Linked DNA regions of Homo sapiens: region 1 is linked to region 2. The links are contacts of gene promoters, found by promoter capture Hi-C in human tissues and cell types (Jung and others, 2019). All regions are on one chromosome and are shown on one strand. Each heading gives the region's core, a stretch centred on a gene start or on the middle of the fragment in contact. The rest is flanking DNA. Distances are from core to core; before and after follow the strand shown.

Evidence for each region. The method cuts DNA at HindIII sites, captures the fragments that hold promoters and counts their contacts. A contact is called where the count stands out against the background at its distance.
Region 1: a fragment that was not itself captured here is called in contact with the fragment with the promoter of CCDC54 in region 2 in 2 of the 25 tissues and cell types used here (H1 embryonic stem cells and dorsolateral prefrontal cortex).

What each region holds. Positions count from the first base shown.
Region 1 is chr3:107,230,828-107,235,883 of GRCh38, forward strand. The region is part of intron 1 of LINC00882 (long intergenic non-protein coding RNA 882); the gene reads right to left. It overlaps LOC124909404 (a long non-coding RNA gene), which reads left to right. Exons shown (of 2, transcript XR_007095994.1): 2 at 41-671. Among named protein-coding and RNA genes, the nearest start is that of LINC00882, 7.3 kb to the right of the region's middle. The HindIII fragment of the contact is 3,445 bases long and covers 1,634-5,056 here.
Region 2 is chr3:107,373,637-107,378,980 of GRCh38, forward strand. CCDC54 (coiled-coil domain containing 54) reads left to right here and starts at 3,803. Exons shown (of 1, transcript NM_032600.3): 1 at 3,803-4,999. The coding sequence starts at 3,952. The coding sequence ends at 4,938. The HindIII fragment of the contact is 13,990 bases long and covers 1-5,344 here.

The DNA of each region.
Region 1 (5,056 bases), core at 2,106-4,605, 140 kb before region 2:
TTTTCAGCATCTCAGTAACACAGTTTTTTTTTTTTTTCAGTCACGTGGACCTTCTTTTTTCTTCTAAATCTCAACCATATTATCTATATGGCTGTGCAAGGAAGATCAATAAGGAGGAGCTCTAACAATTTCCATTGGTTTTCTGCAATCCAAACCGAGATGATCCAGGCTTAAACAAGACGTAGGGAGTCTAGGGGTAGAGAAAGGCTGATTCTTTGCTGTATCTTACAGGAGGTCTACGCTTATGAATTCCAGCTTTTCAGGTGGATAATTTGACATGAAGGTTTGTTCTTTGAACATTTTTAATCATTCTATCCTGCCTCCCAAGGCTCCCAAGAGACATTTTACTGAAATAGAAGTAAAATGCTAAATACTTTACTCACCTTTTCCTCTAATTCTGTGTTTTGACCTTTTTTAAGTTTTCATCTCACATGCTATTATAAATAACCTGAGGACAGGAACATAGTCTGTGCAGTTCTCTCTAATCAGCATCTATTCCAGCACCCTATGCAATGAAACACTCACAAAATATTTCCTAGTGATTAGACAATAGTTTACTGTCTAATTGAAATGAAACTCAAAAGTTGGGACCTTGTTTTAACATACTTTATGCAATGTCTGATGTGAAGGAAAATCACAAAATATGAGAATTAAAAGAAGCCTTGAAACTATTTTGTTATTATCAACAATTTATTTTTTTAACCCTGTGAACTTCCTCCATCCAAATTTCTACCACTACCACGTAACAGAAAATAGTTCCAAACTTTCTATGAAGAGTCCCTGGAACCATAGAAGGGGAAGAAAAGAGATCATATACACCACAATACATTTGCAGAGAAGATCCACTTCTCAGTAACTTAATGAAATTTTGGAACCACTTAGGGCTACAACTTTGTTAGATATTAGTATTCAATACAATTTAAGTAAAACAAATAAGAGCAGACAATTTGGGTTGCAAACAGTTCAGAAGGCAAAACCAAGTTTCAATTAACTGTAAATTTTGTACAGCGAAACACTAGTAAGTTAGTTCTTGATTCTAAAAAAAAGTAAGTTTAAATTTCTTTTTCTAAACTTATCGGCTCTCCGGGATTGATAAAAAATGCAAATTCCCACCCTATCTTTGGTAGGTGCGTGTACACAGATCTGACAAGAAACTACACAAAGGGAAATGTTAAAAGTTGATCCTTCTTAGCAACATAAGAAAACCATTAAAGAGAAATATTTCCGCAGATACTTACAAGGTGAAATTTTTGTGTTCTAGCTTTTTTCACTAATGAACTTTCTCATTGCCCCTAAGAGTCTGAATACAAACAAATATTTCTAGTTCTTCCTATAGGTCTACATAAATTCCCTCCAACTTCACTTTTCTCCTTTCCTGAAATCAAATGTACAACTGTTTTACATAGGAGCAGCATAATGCTAGGCAATTAGTAAGTGTGTTGGTGTTCATAACAGAGATTTATTGCAACTATATGCAAACATTGTACTATGGATTGAGCAAAATTACATAAACAGAATAGCCAGTATTCCTGATTTGAAATTTAAATATCAATACAAATAAAATGAAATAGTAAAGAGTAGAACGGAGAAATGGGAGGGGATGTGGATGGGATGCGGGGGAGGGGATAGGATAAACTGATAGAATAAAAGATAATGGGGAGATTATTTTCTTACTCTTGGCCCCACCTCACTCTTCCATGATTATCATGCTATGGTTCTACAGTTTTCTAAATTACTATAAAAGTCTTAAAGACATAGCCTGCCCTGTGTTTCTTCTCATCTTTAGCACTGCCCAAATGGAGAATATAACTTTGAGAAAATAAATATTAATAAGTGATATGGTTTGGCTATGCCCCCACTCAAATCTCATCTTGAATTCCCACGTGTTGTGGGAGGGACCCAGTGGGAAGTAACTGAATCATGGGGGCAAGTCTTTCCCATGCTGTTCTCTTGATAGTAAGTTTCATGAGATCTGATGGTTTTAAAAAGAGGAATTCCCCAGGCTTCCCCGGCCACATGGAACTAATCCAGTTAAACCCTTTTCTTTTGTAAATTGCCCAGTCTCAGGTATGTCTTTATCAGCAGCATGAAAAATGGACTAATACAGTAAATTGGTACCAGTAGAGTGGGGTGTGGCTGAAAAGACACCCAAAAATGTGAAAGCAACTTTGGAACTGGGTAATAGGTAGAGGTTAGAACAGTTTGGAGGGCTCATAGGAAGACAGGAAAATGTGGGACACTTTGGAACTTCCTAAAGACTTGTTGAATGGCTTTGACCAAAAGCCTGATAGCAACATAGATAATAAGGTCCAAGCTGAGGTGGTCTCAGATGGAGATGAGGGACTTGTTGGGAACTGGAGCAAAGGTAACTCTTGTTATGTTTTAGCAAAGAGACTGGCAGCATTTTGCTCCTGCCCTAGAGATTTGTGGAACTTTGAACTTGAGAGAGATGATTTAGGGTATCTGGCAGAAGAAATTTCTAAGCAGCAAAGCATTTAAGATGTGACTTCAGTGCTATTAAATGCATTCAGTTTATAAGGGAAGCAGAGCATAAAAAGTTTGGAAAATTTGCAGCTTGACAATGTGATAGAAAAGAAAAACCCATTTTCTGAGGAGAAATTCAAACTGGCTGCAGAAATTTGCATAAGTAACGAGGAGCTGAATGTTAATCCCCAAGACAATGGGAAAGGTGTCTCCAGGGCAAGTCAGAGGTCTTCATGGCAGTCCCTCCCATCACAGGCCAGAAGGCCTGGGAGAAAATGGTTACCTGGGCCAGGCCCAGGGTCCCCATTCTGTGTGCAGCCTAGGGACTTGGTGCCCTGAGTCCCAGGCACTCCAGCGGTGAGTAATAGGGGCCAAGGTACAGCTCAGGCTGTTTCTTCAGAGAGTGCAAGCCCCAAACCTGGGCAGCTTCCATGTGGTGTTGGGCCTGTGGGTGCTTACAAGTCAAGATTTGAGGTTTGGGAACCTCCACCTAGATTTCAGAAGATGTATGGAAATGTCTGGATGCCCAGGCAAAAGTTTGCTGCAGGGGTGGGGCCCTCATGGAGAACCTCTGCTAGGGCAGTGTGGAAGGGAAATGTGGGGTCAGAGCCCCCATACAGAGTCCCTACTGAGGCACAGCCTAGTGGAGCTGTGAGAAGAGGACCATCATCCTCCAGACCCCAGAATGGTGGATCCACCAACAGCTTGTGCCGTGTGCCTGGAAAAACCATAGACACTCAAGGCCAGTCCCTGAAAACAGCCAGGAGGAGTGCTGTACCCTGCAAAGCCACAGGGGCGGAGCTGCCCAAGACCATGGGAACCTACCTCTTGTGTGAGCATGACCTGGATGTGAGACATGGAGTGAAAAAAGATCATTTTGGAGCTTTAAGATTTGACTGCCCCGCTGGATTTCGGACTTGCATGGGGCCTGTAGCAACTTTCTTTTGGCCAATGTCTCCCATTTGGAATGGCTACCCAATGCCTGTACCCACATTGTATCCAGGAAGTAACTAACTTGCTTTTGATTTTACAGGCTCATAGGCAGAAGGGACTTGCCTTGTATCAGATGTGGACTTTTGAGTGAATGCTGAAATGAGTTAAGACTTTGGGGGACTGTTGAAAAGGCATGATTGATTTTGAAATGTGAGGACATGAGATTTGGGAGGAGCCAGGGGAGGAATGATATGGTTTGGCTGTGTCCCCACCCAAATCGCATCTTTAATTCTCACGTGTTGTGGGAGGGACCTGGTGGGAGGTAATTGAATCACGCGGGCAAGTCTTTCCCATGCTGTTCTCATGATATGAAAAAGTTTCATGAGATCTAATGGTTTTAAAAAGAGGAATTCCCGTGCACAAGCTCTCTCTCTTTGCTTGCTGCCATCCACGTAAGACATGACTTGCTCTTCCTTGCCTTCTGTCATGATTGTAAAGCTTCCCCTGCCACGTGGAAGTTTAAGTCCAATTAAACCTCTTTCTTTTGTAAATTGCCCAGTCTCAGGTATGTCTTTATTACTAGCATGAAAACAGACTAATACAATATGTCATACAAGAGAAATAGGAAATGATAGCACTAAAAGCAATGCTATGAACGTAACAGCCCCAAGCATTAAGGAATCAGGTTATTAATTGTTACCTGAAATAAACCATGTAAATGTTTTCTCAAAGTTTTATTTTTTAAAATCCATCATTGTGCCTTTGAAGTAGGAACTTTGGAAGTTTTAGAAGTGACACTCCTATAGTACTTATAGCAAAAACTACATCTTTCACGAGCAGTTTGGACTGGATTTCTACATCTATCATAACATGGATACATTTAATTTTCTAAATATCGAACGTTTCTTCTCCAGTCGTGTTCCTCATGGAGAAAGAGTCCCAGCAAAAAAACAAATGCTGAAGCAAGGCCCCAAGCTTCTAACTACTTTTGCTGAGTGACGGGGAACGCTAGCACCTTATTAGTTAATCCCAAGGGGAAGGTCTGCCATGCAGGAACTAGCAGCCCTCAGAGTCTAAAACGTGGAACATATAACATCCTACTCGCATGCTCACACATACGCATTTGCACATGGGCTGACTTACATCCAGGAGACAGCCCCTGAGCTCTTTACAAATTGCAGAGAAGCCCAGGAAATCAGCTCTAAAGATGATGTGCCTCTGCTCTGCTTCAGAGGCTCCAACTCATCCTAACTGCCCTGAGAGGTTTCCATGATCAAATCCAGGAGCAGGAGGCAGAAGAGCTGAGGCTCACAAATGGCCCATCCGGGCTTTTCCGTGGAGCCCGTTTCTGCCCGACCCCCCTGAGGAATGTAAACGATCTGTTCAGGACTGAACTGCTTTACCCTCGAGGATGTAAATTATTCATTACCCCCTCCTTCTTGCACATTTTGCCTTTCATTTGCTCCATCTACTCCCTGCTCTATCTTTACTAATTTATCTCTAAGCTACCTCAATTGCCTTCTGCTCTGCTCCCCTCAGAAACTTAAAAACGAAACCGGATTCATTAGCCAAATAACTGGATTAGAGTTCTCTTCAACATATCAGGCAGTAGAGAAAGTTGCTTTGTAATTTCTTTGAT
Region 2 (5,344 bases), core at 2,553-5,052:
AGAAAGGCAGAGTGAGAGATTGAGAGAGCAGGCAGCGCTAAAGCTGAAAACGGTTAACCATCTCCTTTCATCTGGAAGAAGAGAAGTGAGAGACAGGTGGTGGGAAATGAGGAGGAAAGGACTTGTAACTATTCAGCATCTTAATTCTCAAAACCAGTCACTGAACTAGGTGCTGTTATTATCCCATTTTACAGGCTTGTGGGAGGCTAGAAACTTGTGTAAGAGCACTGAGTTAGTCATGGGACAGCCTTGAACCTTTCTGGCTCCAAATACCATTCCTGTGAAAGCCAACCTCCTGGAGAACAGGTAGACTCAGGAAGTCTCCCACTAGGCTTCAGACCACTGTGCTATTTTATTTCTAAATGCCACCATACCCTTGGCAGGAACCCGAAGAGCGGAAGTCAGCTTATTTCCCGTTATTCATTCACTTTCTGACTGCTCTCATAACTTCGCCCAAATCAATAGGCTTACCTCCTCCCGGTGCAACTTTTCACCACCTGGCAAACTCCAGATAAGCCAAGGCTCCCTTTATTGACATTACGAAGGAAGTAGTTAGAAACCCAGACAGGTTTATGTTTGTATCAGCCTATTAGATTTATTTGTTTTATAAAAATAGTAAGCATACACTCATATTTTAAGTTGAAAACTTTAATTTTTTTAATTCCAATTATTGTATTACTATGTCTACCACAGTAAGGAAAGTAAGCCTCCAAATATTCACTTTTACCTACAAATTAGAGCTTGTTCAACTTCTAAAGTCTTCACAAATTTCTGTATCAAATGCTTTTGGTAAATAAAATAACCGATGAAAGCTTAAATTTTCTCATAATGCTAAACAGACAAAATTTTAATAAAATAAGTCTTCTATAAATATACAGTAGGATTTTAAAAAGAAAATGTCCATCTTTTTCTGAGTTGTACTAAATATATATTTTAATCATGATTGTGAGGCAGTAGAGGTAAAACACATGGACTCTGGAGCCAGAATGTAAGCATTTGAAATCTGACTCTGCCCATTTTTAAGCTCTATTACCTTAGGAAAGTTACTTGACTTCTCTGAACATAGTTAAGTAAGCTAATACTTAGAGCAGTGTCTGGTATGCACCCAACAAGTCTTAGCTGTTATTAACCTGGAGGGAGTAATTATGACAAGCAGTCCCTCTCATTTAACTGGGAATTCTTGGAAAGTGAGAATACGTAATACACAAATTGCCTCCAAATGTAATGAAATTTTAATAATACTAAATCTAACAATTAATGAATATGACATAGTACATTTCAGAGACGTTTCATTAAACATTTATTGCTTCAATCTTGCAGCTTTCTTTCAGTATTCTGAGCCACTGTTTTTTTTTTCTTCTGTTCTTAAGTATTTTCATTGGCCCTTAAAAACTGTATGGGCCCTAAGTACTGTGTCTGCAGAACTCGACGGATAAAATGGCCTTAGCCAGAGTAAACGGGACGGCTGTGAACTCTAACCTTTCCAAGCCCCAAATGCCATTCCTGTGATAGTCTGCCTCTTGGAGAATATTTTCCTCAGCAAGTGTTTGGAAAGGTTTCTAGACATTTTCGAAAGGTTACTAAACAGCATTTGAAAGATAGGAGAGTAAGGCAAAATCCCAGATATTATTGATGAGCCAAAATTTTAAAATTACTGCTGGAAAAGCTCACTGTTTGTACCAAATCCTGGGCCAACACTGACCCTCCAATTGGGCACAGATAGAAGAAACAGTGATTTGGTAGAAGGTTGGAATTGGCATGGATCCAAGAGGGAATGTCCTTTTGAGTAGAATGGGACTGCTCCTTGAGAGACATGTGAGTAACACGTCATTTTGATTCCAGAGTGTTCAGTCTAATGTGTTTAGAGAATAAAATTAAGTTTTTACCTCAATATATAAAATGGGCCAAATATTATTTAATATTTCAAAGGGTTTGAATTTCAAATACTGTTATGTAGAAAAACCTATAAGAAGGAACATGAGAAATGGCTGCTGTTATTTTTAAATTCTAAGGCAGTGGCTCTCAAAGTGTGGAATGCTTTGTGTCATGAGACCACTCTGTAAGTGTGACAATGAGGGCAACAATATTTCAAAATAATCCCAGGACACCGTTTGTCTCTTCCACTGTGCTTACATTTGCCTGTTGAAAATTACATTGCAAAAGCAATGGTGGGTAAAACTGTTGATACCTTAGCATGAACTACAGCAGGGGTACCACACTGACTAACAGTGACTCAATCAGAAAAGGAAAAAAATACAAGAAAAACCAGTTTCACTCAAGAATGTCCTCAATGAAGCAGTAAGAATTTTTAATCTTATTAGATCTCAACCCTTCAGTACATCTTTTTTATATTATGTATGATATAATGGGAAGTAAACATAAGTGCTTCTGCAGCTTAACAAAGTATACTGGTTTTCATGAGGAAACGTACATAAGTATTTGAATTACAAATGTGTGCTTTTTTCATGGAACACTATTTTTTCTTGAAAAAAACTGACAACAAACTACAGTGTTCATAGTTGGGCATTTGGCAAGCATTTTTGCAAAAAATGGATGGAGGGAATCTGTCACTTCAAGGAAAACAATAAACCAGCTTGATAAATTTCAAGATTTTCAAGCTAAAATTAGAATTTTGAAAAATCTGCATTTGCTACCATGAGCTTGGCCTCTTCTCAGTACTCAAAGACTTTTCTGGTGAGATTGGTGGAGATATTAATGAAAATGATATTTTGATATTATATAATACAATGAGTTGACATTTGGAAGACCTACATAATTCAGTGAACCATTGTTTGCCAAATGACCAATACATGATATTATGCATCTATTCAAAATAAAAAATAGACCAGCGGCTATTAATATAACAGAGTATGAAACTTCTTTGATTTGGCCTAAAATGACACATTGCAGCTAACTTCTTAAAAAAAATCATTTGTCAAATTTTCATAAAGTAGCAAAGAATGATATCCTCAATTATCTGAAAAAGCTATGAAAATACTCTCCCCTTTCCATTTACGTAACTCCATGAGGCTATTTTTTCTTCATATACTTCAAAATAATATATCACAACAGATATAATGCAGAAGCAGATATGAGAATCTAGTTATCTTCTATTAATTCAGGTATTTAAAACACTTGCAGATATGTAAAACAATGCCACTCTTCTCACTTTTTTTTTAGAAAACCAAATTATTTTTTATGAAAATATATCACTTATGTTAACATGTAATGGGTTTTTAAATTTAAATTAATAACTAATTATCTAAGACTTTCTTAGTTTTAATGTCTACTATAAAATGTAGGTAGATATAACCCAAATAAACAAAATCTGTGTGATCCTCAATAATTTTTCATTTTTATTTTTATTTATTTATTTATTTATTTATTCATTTTGAGACAGAGTCTTGTACTGTCGCCCAGGCTGGAGTGCAGTGGTACCATCATGGCATACTACAGTCTCCACCCCCTGTGCTCAAGTGATCCTCCCACCTCAGCCTCCCAAGTAGCTGAGGCTACAGGCATGCACCACCATGGCTGGCTAATTTTTTTATTTTTTTGTAGCAACAGGTGTTTTTCTGTGTTCCTCAGGCTGCTCAACAATTTCTATGATTCAAAAAGAGCCCTATGACCAAAACTTTTGAGAACTGCTGTAGTTAAATATGTTTGTTCTAAGCCAGCAGTCATTGTGACATCAGCAGCAGGTCAATGATTACCATATGAAAGATTCCATGCAGTTGACTATTATTTCACAGAGCTCTCTGGTTGGGCTGCTCTATAAGAAGCTAATCACCTAACAGTGTCTATTGCTGTGGCTGATGATTTCCAGAGTGTTCTAAGATGTTATCAGGAAAGGCATCCAACAAATAGTAAGAGAAGGACCATTTCATTTGTACATTATTTCTTCCTGTGATTCTGTTTTCCAACACCTTGCCTCTTGTTTCACCATGAAAGATGTACACACTTCACACCAAAAGGGTAAAAGCTGCTGCTAGGCAGATGTGGACTTCAAATCTCTCCAAGGTCAGACAGTCTCTTAAAAATGTTTACCACAAATGTAAGATTCGGCACCAAGATTCAACTGGATATCCCACTGTGACATCTGATGATTGTAATCAAGATGATGATAGTTATGACGGAAAAATGAATCTTCCAGTAGTGCTCCAAGATGTTAAAACTGCTCAAGTTGAACTTTTCAGCCAAATGACTGACATTGTCCATATGATACCAAAAGTCCAGGAAAAGACTGACTTGTATCAAAAACAGATGGAGGTCCTGGAAACCAGAATGAATGTTAATGAAGACAAACAATGCACAACGACTAAAGATATCCTCTCTATGAAAGAAGACATCAAGGCATTAAAGAAGAAGGTGACAGAACTGGAAATTCAGAATTCCTGCTCCACGATACATTGTCTAGAGATTCTGGAGGGAGAAAGGGGTAAAGAAATCACAGAACTGCTTTACAAACTCATACAACCAGCAACTCTGAAGAACACTTTGGCCTCTACAGACATGGAAATCTCTTCAGCAGAACCAGAGAAAGTGCCCAGTTATCCAAAGTCCACTGACCATCTTGAGAAAAAAACAATTTCTCCCCAAATGAAAACTCTGAAGAAACGTAACCATCAAAATGCATCAAGGAGCTTTGAAAAAGCAAAGCCAAATATTTACATTTACCCAGACTTCAGTACATGGATCAAGCTAACTTTTGTTCATGGAGGAAAATGGACATTTTTCCTCAGTGCTACCAAGTTAGAAGAATTCATCCAGTGGCTTCTTTCTAGGCCAACCATTCTTCCTGAGGAACCCCAGGTCATAACCCAGAGATACTGTCCATTCACTGGGCCCATTTTGAGCTTGACCACAATCTGTCTCTCCATCTTCAACAATATTTACGGCTTTATTTGTTCCTTAAAAGAAGAAGTAACTCGACTATAGAGTTATGTTCTGCTTTGCTTGGCACAAAATAAATGTAACCTGGAGGCTCCAAGTATTCACACATTGGTGTGGTGGCTGTGAATTCTTCGGTAGTTTGCTCACTCTGGGCCCACTATCTGCAGAGTTTCTCTATGTCTACAGTAAGTTAAGGCACATGATCTAATTGAACTGTTGTAATTCGTTTTCTCTCAATGTTCTTGTTTTCTCAAAGGCAATTCATGAGGACTCATCCTGGGTCCATTTTCATAGATAATTGGAAACAAAGAATGAAGGAGTCCAGGGCAATGTGTAGTATGTTTGGTGGCCTCCATGTCAGTTTTCTATACACTTTGTCCTCGTGGCCTTTGTGGATACGGTTTGTGATACCAGAAACATACACTACTGACAAGACTTCATTTTATTTGTT